Linked DNA regions of Homo sapiens: region 1 is linked to region 2. The links are contacts of gene promoters, found by promoter capture Hi-C in blood cells and fetal thymus (Javierre and others, 2016). All regions are on one chromosome and are shown on one strand. The core of a region is centred on a gene start or on the middle of the fragment in contact, and the rest is flanking DNA. Distances in the headings are between cores, read along the strand shown.

Region 1 (6,817 bases), core at 550-3,049, 2.1 Mb before region 2:
CCGCTGCTTTCGACCGGAGGATACACGGTTTCTGGCTCCAGTCCCGTAGTGGAAGTTGGAACAAGAGCAAATCAACCTCGGCAGTGAGCCCTCCCGGCCAGTCACCTCCCTCCCTTAGCGAGTCGGTCCTCCTCATCCTCGCACCTCTATACCGCCGCTCCGCCGCTGGTTTCCCGCGGCTCAGGCGGTTCAGCCGGCCGCGCGTTGGATTCCAGCTTCCCGCAGCATAGCCTCGCCAAGCCGCGGCCAAGCGCGGGGCTGGAAGCTCCAGGCCACTGGGGCCGCACGGGTGGAGACAGGAGGAGAAAGGGGACAGGCGGCGAGCCGCACACATTTGCAGAAGTTGAGGCCCTGCCTGCTTCTGCGCGGCCGCGCAGAGGGCTCGAACCCTCGCTCGGGTAGCGCCGGGCCCGGCTGGACTGGGAGCGGCCGGGAGAGGGCGAGAGGGCAGCAAGAAATGGCCAGAGTTGCCTCTCACCCAGTGCCGAGAGGCTCGCGAGGGCAGGCGGGCAGATCGTGGCTGCCCTTCTCTGTCCTCTTCGGAGACAGACACCCGGACCTGCCAGGGACATCCAGTGTTGCCGTCCGCTTCCTACACACCGAACCATCTGCCCCCGCAGGGCAATCCAGGTCACTCACTACCTACTCTCCCCAGAGTCAAGGTGCGGCACGAGGAAGTGGGTTCTCCAACCTTCGGTGGGGTCTGGAGCCCGGCAGCGGGGCGCTCTGAAGGGTCCTGGCTCCTCGGTAGGATCGTGTCCCTGAGCCGCTCTCCGCCTCCCGCCCCCCTTTGCCCACTTGGGCCGCGGCGCGGGCACAGGAGCGCATTTGGAAGGACTCCGCGAATCCAGAGAAAAATAGAGACGTGGATGCTGCCCCAAAATGAGAGACCAGAGAAAGTCGAGGACATGCACCCACAAACATTTCCAAGCGCCGGTGGCCACGGTAATCTGCTGCGGGGCGGCTGGGAGATTTTCAAAGGCACCGCGGAAGCACCTCCGACCTCCAGGCCATCTCCCTCGGCCTCCTGGCCTCGCCGTGCGCGCAAATCCCCGACTCCTCCGAGCCGCAGAAGTCTCCACTGCAAAGCTGCTGATCCGCGCCCCCAAACCGGGCACATGCTCTCCCCCTCACAGCCCTCCAAACCGAGCCTCGAGCTCCGAAGACCTCTCAGCACTCTTCTCCCAACCACTCTCGGTCGCGCCTGCCCCGCGCAGCCCGGCCCTGGCCTCGGACCGGCCCCCTGATCGGCCCGGACGCCCGCTTACCTTTTCTTCTCCTTGTCAGCTGTCATTGTCGCTGTGGCCCTTTGAGACGTTCAGACGCCGAGCACCTGGGCTCCCTGGCGGGTGGGGGGCTGTGGCCCTCGTCCGCTCCCCGCGGCCCGGGCGGGTGGTGAAGGTCCGAGGTGCGCGCAGGTCCCGAGCGCCCCGCGCAGTCAGGTGGAAGGTGGCGCGCGGCGGGCTAGGTGCGGGGGCGGGGGTGGAGAAAGGTGACTGGGAGGAACCTGCGCGCGGAGGCGGGGTCCGGGGAAGGAGTGGGTGGAGGCTGTCAGACCCGAAAAGAGGACGGAGAGAAGGGAACCCAAGTTCCTTTTTCCCTGGAAAAGGAGTCACTTTTCTGAGTTTTCAAAGAAAAAAAAAAGTGGCTCGAATGCTGGGAGTCGGAAGGAGTCGGAGGCCGGGCTGAGCTGACCATACAGTCTCAGGACACTGCCGAGGATTGTACGGCCGCCTCAGGAGCGCTGGGGCGGAAGCGCAGCGGGCACCGGACCCGTGTGGCGGTCCGCTCGCGAGTGTAAAGCTCCCGCGGCCGGCAGCCCACTTTAAAAACTCCGTCGGCCGGCTTGGGGCGGGCACGGGGCGGGCGCGGAGGGCGGGGGGCGGGCACCGGCGCGGGTGTGTGGGCGGGCACGCGCCGGCAGGCCCCGCCCGCGCCGAGCTCCGGGCGGCTCACTGCGTCCCGGCCAATGGGGACGCGCGGCCGCAGCCTCTGCCCTGACCCTGGCCCGCCTCCTGCCCCCGCGCTGCGCCCCGCCTCCTGCCTCCGCACTTCGAGGACTTGTTTATGAGGTCGTCTGGGCGGCGGGTAGCGGGGTGGGACTCCGCGTCGGGGAGAGGCAGCCTGCGCAGGGCCGAGGGGCGGCCGGGAGCCGGGCTCCGGGATTGCTGCGGGGGACGGCAGTTGCGCCACAGCGTCGGTGTCCTCGTACCGGCGCCGTGCCCTTGGAACGAGGGCAGGACCGCGGGCAGCGCCGGGCCAGCGCGGAGCCCCTCCACGCTGCTGCGCTCCTGCGTCCCTGGCCCTCGGGCCAGGTGGGGATAATTTCTCGGCCCCCAGCGGCTGCGTTTCGGGCGTGGGCGATGCGCCCTTTTCGGTGGGACGCAGCTGACTTGACCGTCTGGGAGAAGCAGTGCAAGGAAATTGATCTAGGGCTGCGCCTACTCTTCCTTCCCTCTCCCAGCAGGGTGGTTGCTTACCGGCTTGTGCCAGGCGGTTTGGTTTTGGCGGGGATGCGGCAGAGGAGGCCCTTTGAGCCGCCCGAGGCCGGGGCGAGTTCAGAATTGGAGAAGTCAGTCTGGTTCCCCAGTGTGATCTTGGAGTGACAAGAGTTGGCCATGTGCCCTCAAGTCACTGCATCTCAGGCCTGCCCTCTCTGCCGCCAGGGTCGATGGAAGTCCTGGGAAACCCAAAGGCTACAGGTGTTGGAAATTTGTAGATTTAAGGGCTCACACAGGCAACGGTTAGCGCTCAGGGATTTTCCAGCGGCGCTTTTGACGCTGCCTTCCATCTCCGGGCCCAGTGCTCCCCTGCCCCGCGCTGAGCTGTCTCCCACTCGCTACCGGCGATGGGGAAGGGACATCTGGGGAGAGGACAGGGGACGCCCTTAGTTTTTGAAGGCTGTGGAAGGACCCATGAGTTTCACAGGTGTAACTTGAAGTTGGAAAGCGAGGGCCAAAGAACTGGTCTATATCTCTCCCTTTAGCCTCTTGCCACATTTTATACTAGAACGATCTACAGAAGCGATTTGAAGAGAAGGGTAGGTTTCAGCGCCATAATAAAAATGAACACGTGTTTTCCCCGTGTACACAGAAAGGGTTGGGGGAGATACTTTTCAGGAGCCTGGAGAAGGCGAAGTGGGGAGAGGGCAAAAACTGACGAAGAATTGGGAAATACTTTTTTTTTTTTTTTGAGACTGAGTCCCACTCTGTCGCCCAGGCTGGAGTGCTGTGGCCCCATCTCGACTCACTGCAACCTCCGCTTCCCGCGATTCTTGTGGCTCAGCCTCCGGAGTAACTGGAATTAAAGGCGCCCACCACCACCCTCAGCTAATTTTTGTATTTTTAGTAGAGACGGGAGTTTTACCATGTTGGCCAGGCTGGTCTCAAACTCCTGACCTCAAGTGATCTGCCCAACTTGGCCTCTCAAAGTATTGGGATTACAGGCGTGAGTCACTGTGCCCGGCCGGGAAGTAGACGTATTTTGTCATTTTCTCAGATCTCGGGGCACGGAGCACCTATACAGGTTGATAGTCAACGAATTCAAAGATTGCAAATCTCTCTCTAGCGAACTATTTCATGGGGCTGGTGGGTTTCAGGAACGGGGTGATTTGGTACTGGGCTTCTCCAGCCAGCCATTTCTAGTGGACACATTTATGTATTTTAATGAGTTCAAATTGGTAGATAGTTCTCCCTTAACCATAGGCTTATTTCCCTCACTTGGGACTAGAGTGCGGGAAAAGGGCACCTTGGTGGCTTCCAGGTGCCTACAGTAGTTCACCACAACAGCCTCTGAGTCCTGGACTGTGCTTGACAGATCGAGGCAACACCTCCAACCCATAGAGAACATAGCCTTTTAGATCTTGTTTTTAAAGAGGAAAGGCAAGGAGGGGTCACTCAAGACCACATCAACCTAAGAAGACATGGACACATGGGAGGAACAGCACAGACTGGGGCGTGTCAGAGGGTGAGGGGTGGGAGGAGGGAGAGCATCAGGAACAATAGCTAACGGATGCTGGGCTTAATACCTAGGTGATGGGATGATCTGTGCAGTGGACCACCATGGTACACATTTACCTATGTAACAAACCTGCACATCCTGCACATGTACCCCTGAGCTTAAATGTTAGAAATTCCATCAACCATGTTATATAGCTCCTTCCTCTTGGCCAGACTGCACCCTATAAGTGAAGGATCCCCAGGCTAACACAAACAGCTGGCATTGAGTCTGGGATTTTTTTTTTTTCTTTAGACAATCTCACTCTGTTGCGCAGGTTGGAGCGGAGTGGCACGATCTTGGCGCACTGCAACCTCCACGTCCCGGGTTCAAGCTATTCCCCTGCCTCAGCCTCCCAAGTAGCTAGGACTACAGATGTGCACCACCATGCCCGGCTAATTTTTGTATTTTTAGTAGAGATGGAGTTTTGCCATGTTGGCCAGGCTGGTCTGGAACTCCTGGCCTCATGTGATCCACCCACCTGGGCTTCCCAGAGTGCTGGGATTATACGCATAAGCCACCGCACCTTGCCAAGTCCGGGATTTTGGCAGTGTCTGAGATACACCAAAAACTCATTATAATAACTCTCAAAAGGGTTGCACCCAGCCTTGCTTAGAGCAGAGCCGGGTGGCCTGAGATTTCTTCCAGGACTCAGCTCAATAACCTTTGCAGGAAGGAGCTGAGAGTGTAAACCAGATGCAGGCTGTGGCTAGGGTGCATCCAATTTTACTTTTTAGAGCCTGTGGAGAACTAGAGGAGAAAAACTTTGAAAGGTGATGCTGGGGCAGTGAGTGGGGGATGGGGAGCTGGGTCCCCGGATTCAGAGGGGTGTCTTTAGAGACACTGATGTTGTGGCCACAGAGGGCAGCAGAGGACACCGGTAGGCAAAGCTCCCAAGCTGCTTAAAATAGGAGCAAACTGCCCACCTCCCAGCAAATCTCCCTACCTGCCCCCCAACCCTGTATTGGATGGTTTGGGAACAAAAGCTGTGGCACCAGTGAAACACCTATTTGTTTTGACAAGGGACAAATCTGATTCTCTTGCTTCCTCTTTTCTTTGTAGGGTGTGCCCTCAGGAGGATGGGATAGAGATAAAGTGTGAACTTACAAACCTGGCAGAGAGCAGGCACCTGGGATGCAGTGGGCTGGTGGAAGAAAGATGGCCTCAGTACTCCCATCGAAGTAACAGTATGTTCCAGGATGCAGTTGGAAATTAGGTTGGAATGGATGGGATCTAACAGGAACAGCTCTTGGAAGGATGGGCTATCTCATTAGTACCTTACAACTTCCAATGCATTGTCACATATTGGAGTTGGGACCAGGGTGAGGCAAAAGAGGCCTTTAAGAGTCATGCAAGTACACTGGCCTCTGTCCTGCCACATGCCTTATCTCACGTAATACCCATCTGACCCTTGTCTGGCTATTTAGTTGGTTTCGGGGTGGAGAGAGCAGGGGAGGTAAGGAGCAGAGATGGGAGAGAGGACAAGCTGGCAGAGACTCTTTCTCTATGAAAAGCCTTGCCTGAGTCACTCCTTCCCTCACACTTGCATGTTACTCCATCCAAACGAAACCAGCCCCTTTTGTGACTTCACAAAATCTATACTCACACTCCCTGTCACTGAACTCCAGGTCCAGAAAACTATGCCCCCTGTGTTTGGCTTTAGGCCAATGTCGTGAGATATTCCACACAGACATGTGCTGTATCTTCTTTTAAATGTTGTGACTTTTGACCCCACAAATCTAGAATTTGTCATCTTTCAAAAAGAGTTCTGTGATTTCTTTTTTTTTTTTTTTTTTTTTTTGAGGCAAGAGTCAAACTTTTTTTCCTCCTTGAATTCCTAAGTGCTTGCTGGTAAGAAGGATGCAGTTTTAAAGAACCCCAGCTTCTCCATTCCTCACACCTGTATACTGATGACTTGGAGACTAACATCTTCCATTGCTAGGCTTAGGAATGAAGTTTTGCCTCTGAAGGGAGTTGTGCATTTGTAACTGTCATTCAACCAATGGTGAAAGAGTCACTGGTCCAGGGCCAATGTGCTCTGCTGCCTCCGGGAAAGCATAAGACATCAGTCTGTGGAAGAGGGCACTGGTGGTTTCCTTCCCTCCAAGAGGACATAGTTCAGTTGGGTACATACTGCATTTCCCAGATTTTGAATACACACGTTTTAAGGCTTCCAAAATCAGGTATCTTTTGACATGGTAATTCCTTTTCCTCCCCCAATTTTTAATTTGGTAAATATGTACAATTTATATGCTCTTAACATTTTTAAATTTGAAAATCGAGAGCAAAATCTTATAGCCTAAACAACAGGAGTGGTAAGAATTTGGTGGTGGTGAACAACCAGAAAATCTGGAGTCCCAGCCATGTCCACTGCTAGGACCCAGAGAAGCCTAGCCTGGACTGGCCCAGCTGCCGGGCTGATGAGTGTGACCTCTGAGGTGATAAAATAACACCCATGTGGGAGGAATGGCCAATAAGAAGGACATGCCAGCCCCACCTTAGAAAAAGGCATGAGTAGAAATGAAGGTGCTATATCACTAAAAATGATGACATTGGGCCCCAAGCATCCGATTTTCTCTGGCACCTGGCTAAGACAGGCATAGAGGACAGGGCCGGTTGGGGTGTAGTCAGAGACACCCTCCCTATTCTGTGGCATTGCTTTGGCCTGTAGCAAAGTGTTAAAATGGGACTCTTCCTACTTCAGTTTCAACTGAGTTCCCAAGACAATCAATGCCAGCTACTCCCACTTCCAAAATGCGGAACACAAGAGCTCCTTGAAAATGATTTTGTGTACCTTCTCCAGCCACTGTCCACCTCAAGG
Region 2 (6,457 bases), core at 3,599-6,098:
GATTCACCAACCTCGGGCTCCCAAAGTACTGGGATTACAGGCATGAGCCACTGTGCCCGGCCATGAAGAGTATTATTATAAAAGGTATATGTTATGCCAAGCAATAACAAGATATTGTAGATGTGATTAGTTATAGTAAAACAAAAAGAAAAAAATGTATTTAAGCACTCTTCTGTGTCATGGTTTACCATTAATTCAGAAGTAAAGTGTTTATGGTTGTTATTAAAGTTAAACCAAAGGGGAGAAATAAAGCACCCTGTAATTTGAAGGAAAACTACGAAGTATGAGATCTCGAGGGGCAAAAAAGAAATGAAAAAAGAAAACTAAAAAGAAAAAAAGTATATAAGTTATTGTACAGTATTTATGTTTCCTAGGATGTTATATGTTACTAAAAACTAAATCTCAAAATCTTTAAATACTCTGAGAAATAAATACACTATATAGATTACACTTTTGGAAAATTTTGTAACATCATCAAGAATTTAGTAAAGGGTTCTTTTCACCATAACGCTGATTCCAGTATCTGGTCTGTTAGTCTTTTTTGGCCGGCCAGTACACCTGGCTAAATTCTGTATTTTTAGTAGGGACTGGGTTTTACCACGTTGGCCAGGCCAGGCTGTTCTCAAGTGATCTGCCTGCCTTGGCTTCCCAAAGTGCTGGGATTATGGGCGTGAGCCACCACGCCTGGCCACGCTTGTTAGTCTTCTAGGTAGTCTTTAAGAAAAGGAATATGGATGGAAATGTTCAAAAGTGTCAATCATCTCAAATCAAATGGACACAAAGAGATTAAGTCACATCAGAATTTTTTAAAAAATAGAGGCGTGGTTTCACTCTGTCATCCAGGCTGGAGCAAACTGGTGCAATCACAGCTCGCTGCAGCTTTGACCTCCCTGGCTCAAGCGATCCTCCCACCTCAGCCTCCCAAGCAGCTAACTACAGGTGCACACACCACCAAGCCCAGCTAACTTTATTTTTTGTAGAGACAGGGTCTTGCTATGTTGCCCAGGCTGGTCTCAAACAATCCATCTGCCTCAGCCTCCCAAAATGTTGGGACAGGAGTGAGCCACTGTGCCCGGCCTAGAAACATTTTACTTGTAAAGATTCTAAAATGGCTTTAGCATACTTAAATTAATCCAAAAGATGAAAACCCATTTTTTTAACTCAATGTATTGATGTAAGTAAACACCAACAAAAACAAAGAAAAAATACACATTATGAAGCTCATGTACCTTTTTCTTCACCTGTTCTTGTTAGATCAGCCACTAGAAGCTGATGATCAGTTCTGTCATTCTGCAAATTTTATGACAGCCAACTACAAACTACAAAAATTAAATAGTTCCCAAAACTCTATTTCACCATCAATGTTTGAGTATAGCATAGTGAAATGTCAGTACACTTAACCATCAATTCTGCTAATATACGATACATTTTACAATAAAACTTTAAAGCTGCTAATATAATAGCAGTATTCCATTTCATTCCAATTCTGAAATTAATTCAGCAAGGGAAAAACAAAAAGAAATCAGGTACAGTGTGAAGAATAACTGAAAATTCAGGAATATCATACTCCTGAAAATTATCTTACCATAATCATGATTTCACATTTTATGCTATTACTTGAATAAATTTTGCTATTATAATTTTGGATTAAACAAACTTTTATTATTCTGATGCCACCAGTTATTTGTTTGCTAATTTTTACTAAAATCAGTGAATTGTGAAAGGCATATTTCACAGAAAATATAAAATACTGTATGTTGCATTTTTAAAAGCGAGAGTTAGAATTATACTACTTAACTACTTTCTATGCTAGGTAATGTCACAAAATACTTTAAAATAGTTACATATAAAAATATTCATGAAATACAGCTTTTTTTTTTTTTTTTTTTTTTTGAGACAGAGTCTTACTCTGGCACCCAGGCTAGAGTGCAGTGGCACAATCTCGGCTCACTGCAACCTCCACCTCGTGAGTCCAAGTGATTCTCCTGCCTCATCCTCCTGAGTAGCTGGGATTACAAGCACGCGCCACCGCACCTGGCTAATTTTTGTATTTTCAGTAGAGATGGTGTTTCACCATGTTGGCCAGGCTGGTCATGAACTCCTAACCTCAAGTGATCCACACGCCTCAGCCTCCCAAAGTGCTGAGATTACAGGCATGAGCCACCGCACCTGGCCTATATAGCCTCTTTTTAATGAATCACCACAATCACTAAGTGATACCGTGGCCAATTCTAAGCTTCCAAGACTGCCAAGACATAATCAGCATCATATTTTAATTCAAAAGATTCCATAAAAAATGTTTGTTATAGAAAAGATAACTTTCAACAAGAGCCACTTTTTCTGACCCTGTCAACCTGTGAATCAGCTGTTCTTAGAAGCACAGTTACTTGGACACTACACTATTCCTTCAGATGATGTAATCTTAAGGAATTTAGTAATTAGGTGAATTACTAACATAAAACAGTATTTACTGACATGACTAAATTGAAAGGCCTTTCACCTATTCCTAGAGTCTTCACAGAAATCAGACACCCAGTGTAAGAAAACGGTGTTGAAAGCTCTGCTGGTCACTTCAAAGAGAACAATCACTTCAACAAATCCAGAGGATAATGTACTAGAAACTGGGGAAATCTTACAGTATGAAAGCTCAAATAAAAATACTCGTGCTAATATACAGCAACAAAAAGAACCACTGCAGAAACTGTTGTAAGACTTCATGAGAGCAAAAACAAATGAAGAGGCGAAAACACAACAACCATTAAGACAAAAAAAAAGACAAAGAAGGCATTGAGAGAAGAAGCACAAAATAAAGATTATCCCTGAAAATGTGTGGACTAAAATATTCTGTTCTAAATACTTAATTTTAAAATTTCGATTAGAACAACACACTGTCCATTTGGCAGACCTACAAAAACATTTCCTTAAAAAATTACCATTACTTCAACTATATTTTTAAAAGGCCTGTACACTTGGAAAAGACTATCATAATAATTAGAATAACTTGTCTCACTATTTACTTAGAAATGCCCCATTTAAAAGTAGGCCAACAATAGGAACTTTGCTATTGCACAACAGAGAAAGTAAATGAAATAACATCTATTAACATTCAGCGTCCATGGCATGTTTCTCCATCTCCTAGAACATACTGTGACTTACACTGTCTACTCTGAACAATTTACCACTTCTTCATCCATGCAGTAGCTCAAATAAAGACAGTTCCTGTGTTAATCCCACAGTAAGCCTCAGTAATTCTCACATCACCGTAGTTGTAAACGTTTGTTAACAGAAAAAGAATGTTTTTCCTAAAATAGCTACATAACACTAAGACTACTCAAATTCCTAAATAATCCTTTTACAACATGCCTGCCAACTTTATTTTGATACATTAAACATGTGGAGCCTATTTTAAAAGCTCTTTAACTGTGACTATCAAAACAACTTCCCAGTTATTAACGTCTCTTTTTAAAAAAGTTTTCAAGTTGTTCTTAGAAGAAATTGAATATTGATGAATTTGGGCTGCTATCAAACGCCTAAGAAGCACTTTTTTTGCCGAATAAGATGGGCAAACGTCCCAGATCTGCTAAATCTGATATGAGAGGTCATGCAAGTTTAAAAAATGAAGAAATAACTATTTCCAACACTCACTGAGTCCTTCATTTAAAAAATTATTTTCGGTGTTATTTTCACACTTTACGTTTAATAATACAATTTTTTCAAGGTTGTTAGGCTTAAACTATGAAAAACTGATTTACCACATATGGCTAGTCAGTCTATACTCTTAATGGGGCTCCGGTAGATTTGGGGTACTGACAATAAGTGGCAGTTTCAATTAAGAACTTCACTGTTAGGAATGACATCCGAAAAGGATGGTGCTAGGGAAGACAGGCAAGAGATGCCGGGGTACGAAGAAAAGAGAAACACACAATTTAAAGCCACTAAGGAGGGAAGGCGAGGGTAGAACGCATAGACAGCAGAGAAAGACGATTTAACAAGGAAGTGAAGTGGAGCGCAGAGTAGGGCAGAAGCTGATGAGGAAACGAATGGTAAAAGATAGTGTTTTCAAACAGGGCATGCACCAGGAAGAGAAGCGCCAAGGCTTGGGGTAGCCCCAGTGCTTTCGTGTGAAAGAGATGCTTGCAGACTGAAGCGGAGGGAAGAGAGAATCAGTCAGCTTCCAGGCGTTCCAGCAAACTCCCATTCTCTCCCTGCGCCTCTCCCAGACCTCAGCCCAGCGGAGGCGGCGGCCGGGGAAGGGGCCTATACCCGAGAGCCAGGCCCGGCGTTCCCCTGCCTAGGCTCCGCGGCAGCAGGGAAAGCAGCGAGGATTCGGAAGGACAGAGGCCCCGGCCGCGGCTCGGCAGCACCGCGAAAACCTGCCCAGGGCCCGGGGCCTCGGCGGCGCGGCCGGTCAGCCGCTTCCCCTCCGGCGGGGTGCCGGGCGGCCTTACCTGAGGCAAGGGAGGGAGAAGATGTCTAGGGCGCCTCGCTCGCGCCCGCCGCGGTACTCAGCCCAAGTTTCCAACGGAGGCGCGACCCTGACTCAGCCGCCGCTTCCCCCTCGGGGTCTCGACCGCCGCCTCCGGGGCTGTTTACACCGCCCGGCCCCTCACGCCGCCGCCGCCGCCGATGCCGCCTTCTCTCCACCCTAGCGCCGTTGCCGATTCGGCCGCCGCCACCTCCTCCGCCGCAGCCTCGTCTCTCTGGAGCATCTTCCAACCACCGAACCCTGAGAATCAGAGACTCCAGCCGCGCCGGCAGGAAACTCCCCCGCAACTGCTAGGGGAACGAGGCCGTCAGAGCACCGGCGGCTTTTCCGCCATTGAGCAGAAGCCGCTCGGCTCCTTTTGCAACCCCCTCCCCGCACCCTAGTCCTTCCCCGCCCCTCAGGGTGCCCCGCCTCCAGCTGCCACCCACTGGGATGCCGCGCGCCCTCTCACGGCCCCCGGTTTGCTGGGAGTCTTGTCAATCACCGCTCCCCCTCCCCGTGCTGCTCCCTCGGCACCTCCGTACTTCGTTTACCCCGCCCACCCGGCCCCGCCTCTGGGTTTCTAATTTCCCATTGGGCATCAGTGGCTACTTTCAATAGGCAAGGTCAGCTGTCCATCAAACACCGCCCACTAAGTGAGACCCAACCCTTTATTACCATTTACTTTATTCGGCCCCGCCTCCGCTAGGTCCTACCTCCCGAACGTCAGGGACCAGCCCCCGCTACCAGCCATAAGTAGAGCCCTCCGTCAATCAAATAACGCCCACCTGCGCTCCTCCTAGCAAAGCCCCGGCCCCAGCGATTGTCTTTTCTTATTGGTCCAACTCGTGATCCGAACCCCCAGTCACTGGCTTTCTTGCGGGTCAGTCACTGAGCCAATTTCCAAGTCCGTCACACCGGCTTTTTTCAAATGAACGCGCAAAAGGCGGGGAAGTATCTGGAAAGCGATTGGTTCGTCCTAGAAAACGGTCAAACCCGGAGAGTCTGTACGGATCCTTTCCGTTCTGTGAGGACCGTGCCCCCTTGTATTTGACCTCTAAGCCTCGCGTAAAAGAAGCGCCATAAGGGACCAACGAGCAGTCCAGCTATAGGTGTGGACGCCTGGTCCCACCCGGAATTGCAGGGGCTTGGCTACTGATTGGCTAAGAAAGTCCTCCTAGGCCCTCATTGGAGGATCTAAACGCCTCTCTTCGGCGTGGAGACGGGAAGGGACGACTCAGACGAGGACAAGAAGTGGGCAGGGGAGAGGCGGTTGTTTTGCTTCAGCCGCGGGTGGGGCGCAGGCGAGAGTGGGAAACTGGGAAGGCCGGGCTCTGGGGAGGTGTTGCGGGGAGGGGAAAGGCCCGGATGTTCCCTAACAATGAAATCATCGCCGACCTATCAGAGCCGCCGAGCTGGGATACCTGCCTGACCTGTACCCCGGAGGGAGAAGAGTGGGCGGGAAATTGGGGTGTCGGAAGAACCTGGAAAGCAACGTGAGAAAGTGGGACAGGTGTTCCCTTCAGGAGGATTTTGTGCTATTAGAGATTATTTTTATACCAGCCCTTGACATTTCCGTATTTTGTTTCTCAGTCGGCATTGATATTAAAACTCCCAGCCTAGTCTCTTGACATGGACTTGTTCATTTCGCAGTTATTGAGCGCCTACTGTTTGCCAGGTACTGTATGTAGAACTGGAGATACAAAAATAAATTAGGCAATCGCAGTACAAGATGATAGGTACTACAATTGAAACATGCACAAGGGCTGGTGACGACATAAAGGGTCTTCCTTGTGCATAGGTTTACCAAGAAAGGCTTCACAAAGACACAGGATGAGTCAAGAATGAATGATAGGGGTTTAACAGGCCGATGGGGAAAGTGGACATGACTCCTCCAGCTATCAAATTAGACGATGCTGCCATGTTAATTCTCCAAACGAGAAACAAAAGTGTAATAGAGGTATTCTAATACTTACCTTAGGATATATATAT

Evidence for each region. Contacts are between HindIII fragments. The CHiCAGO score rates a contact against its expected background, and 5 or more counts as called.
Region 1: the fragment with the promoter of EPAS1 here is called in contact with the fragment with the promoter of PPM1B in region 2 in 1 of 17 cell types (neutrophils); the score reaches 7.7 in neutrophils.

What each region holds. Positions count from the first base shown.
Region 1 is chr2:46,292,389-46,299,205 of GRCh38, reverse strand. It overlaps EPAS1 (endothelial PAS domain protein 1), which reads right to left and starts at 1,799. Exons shown (of 16, transcript NM_001430.5): 1 at 1,269-1,799. The coding sequence starts at 1,294. RefSeq lists silencers at 1,206-1,535, 1,766-2,345. The HindIII fragment of the contact is 15,577 bases long and covers 1-6,817 here.
Region 2 is chr2:44,167,266-44,173,722 of GRCh38, reverse strand. It overlaps PPM1B (protein phosphatase, Mg2+/Mn2+ dependent 1B), which reads right to left and starts at 4,848. Exons shown (of 6, transcript NM_002706.6): 1 at 4,449-4,848. It overlaps PPM1B-DT (PPM1B divergent transcript), which reads left to right and starts at 4,931. Exons shown (of 2, transcript XR_940034.3): 1 at 4,931-6,425. RefSeq lists silencers at 4,288-4,497, 4,818-5,147. The HindIII fragment of the contact is 4,313 bases long and covers 2,239-6,457 here.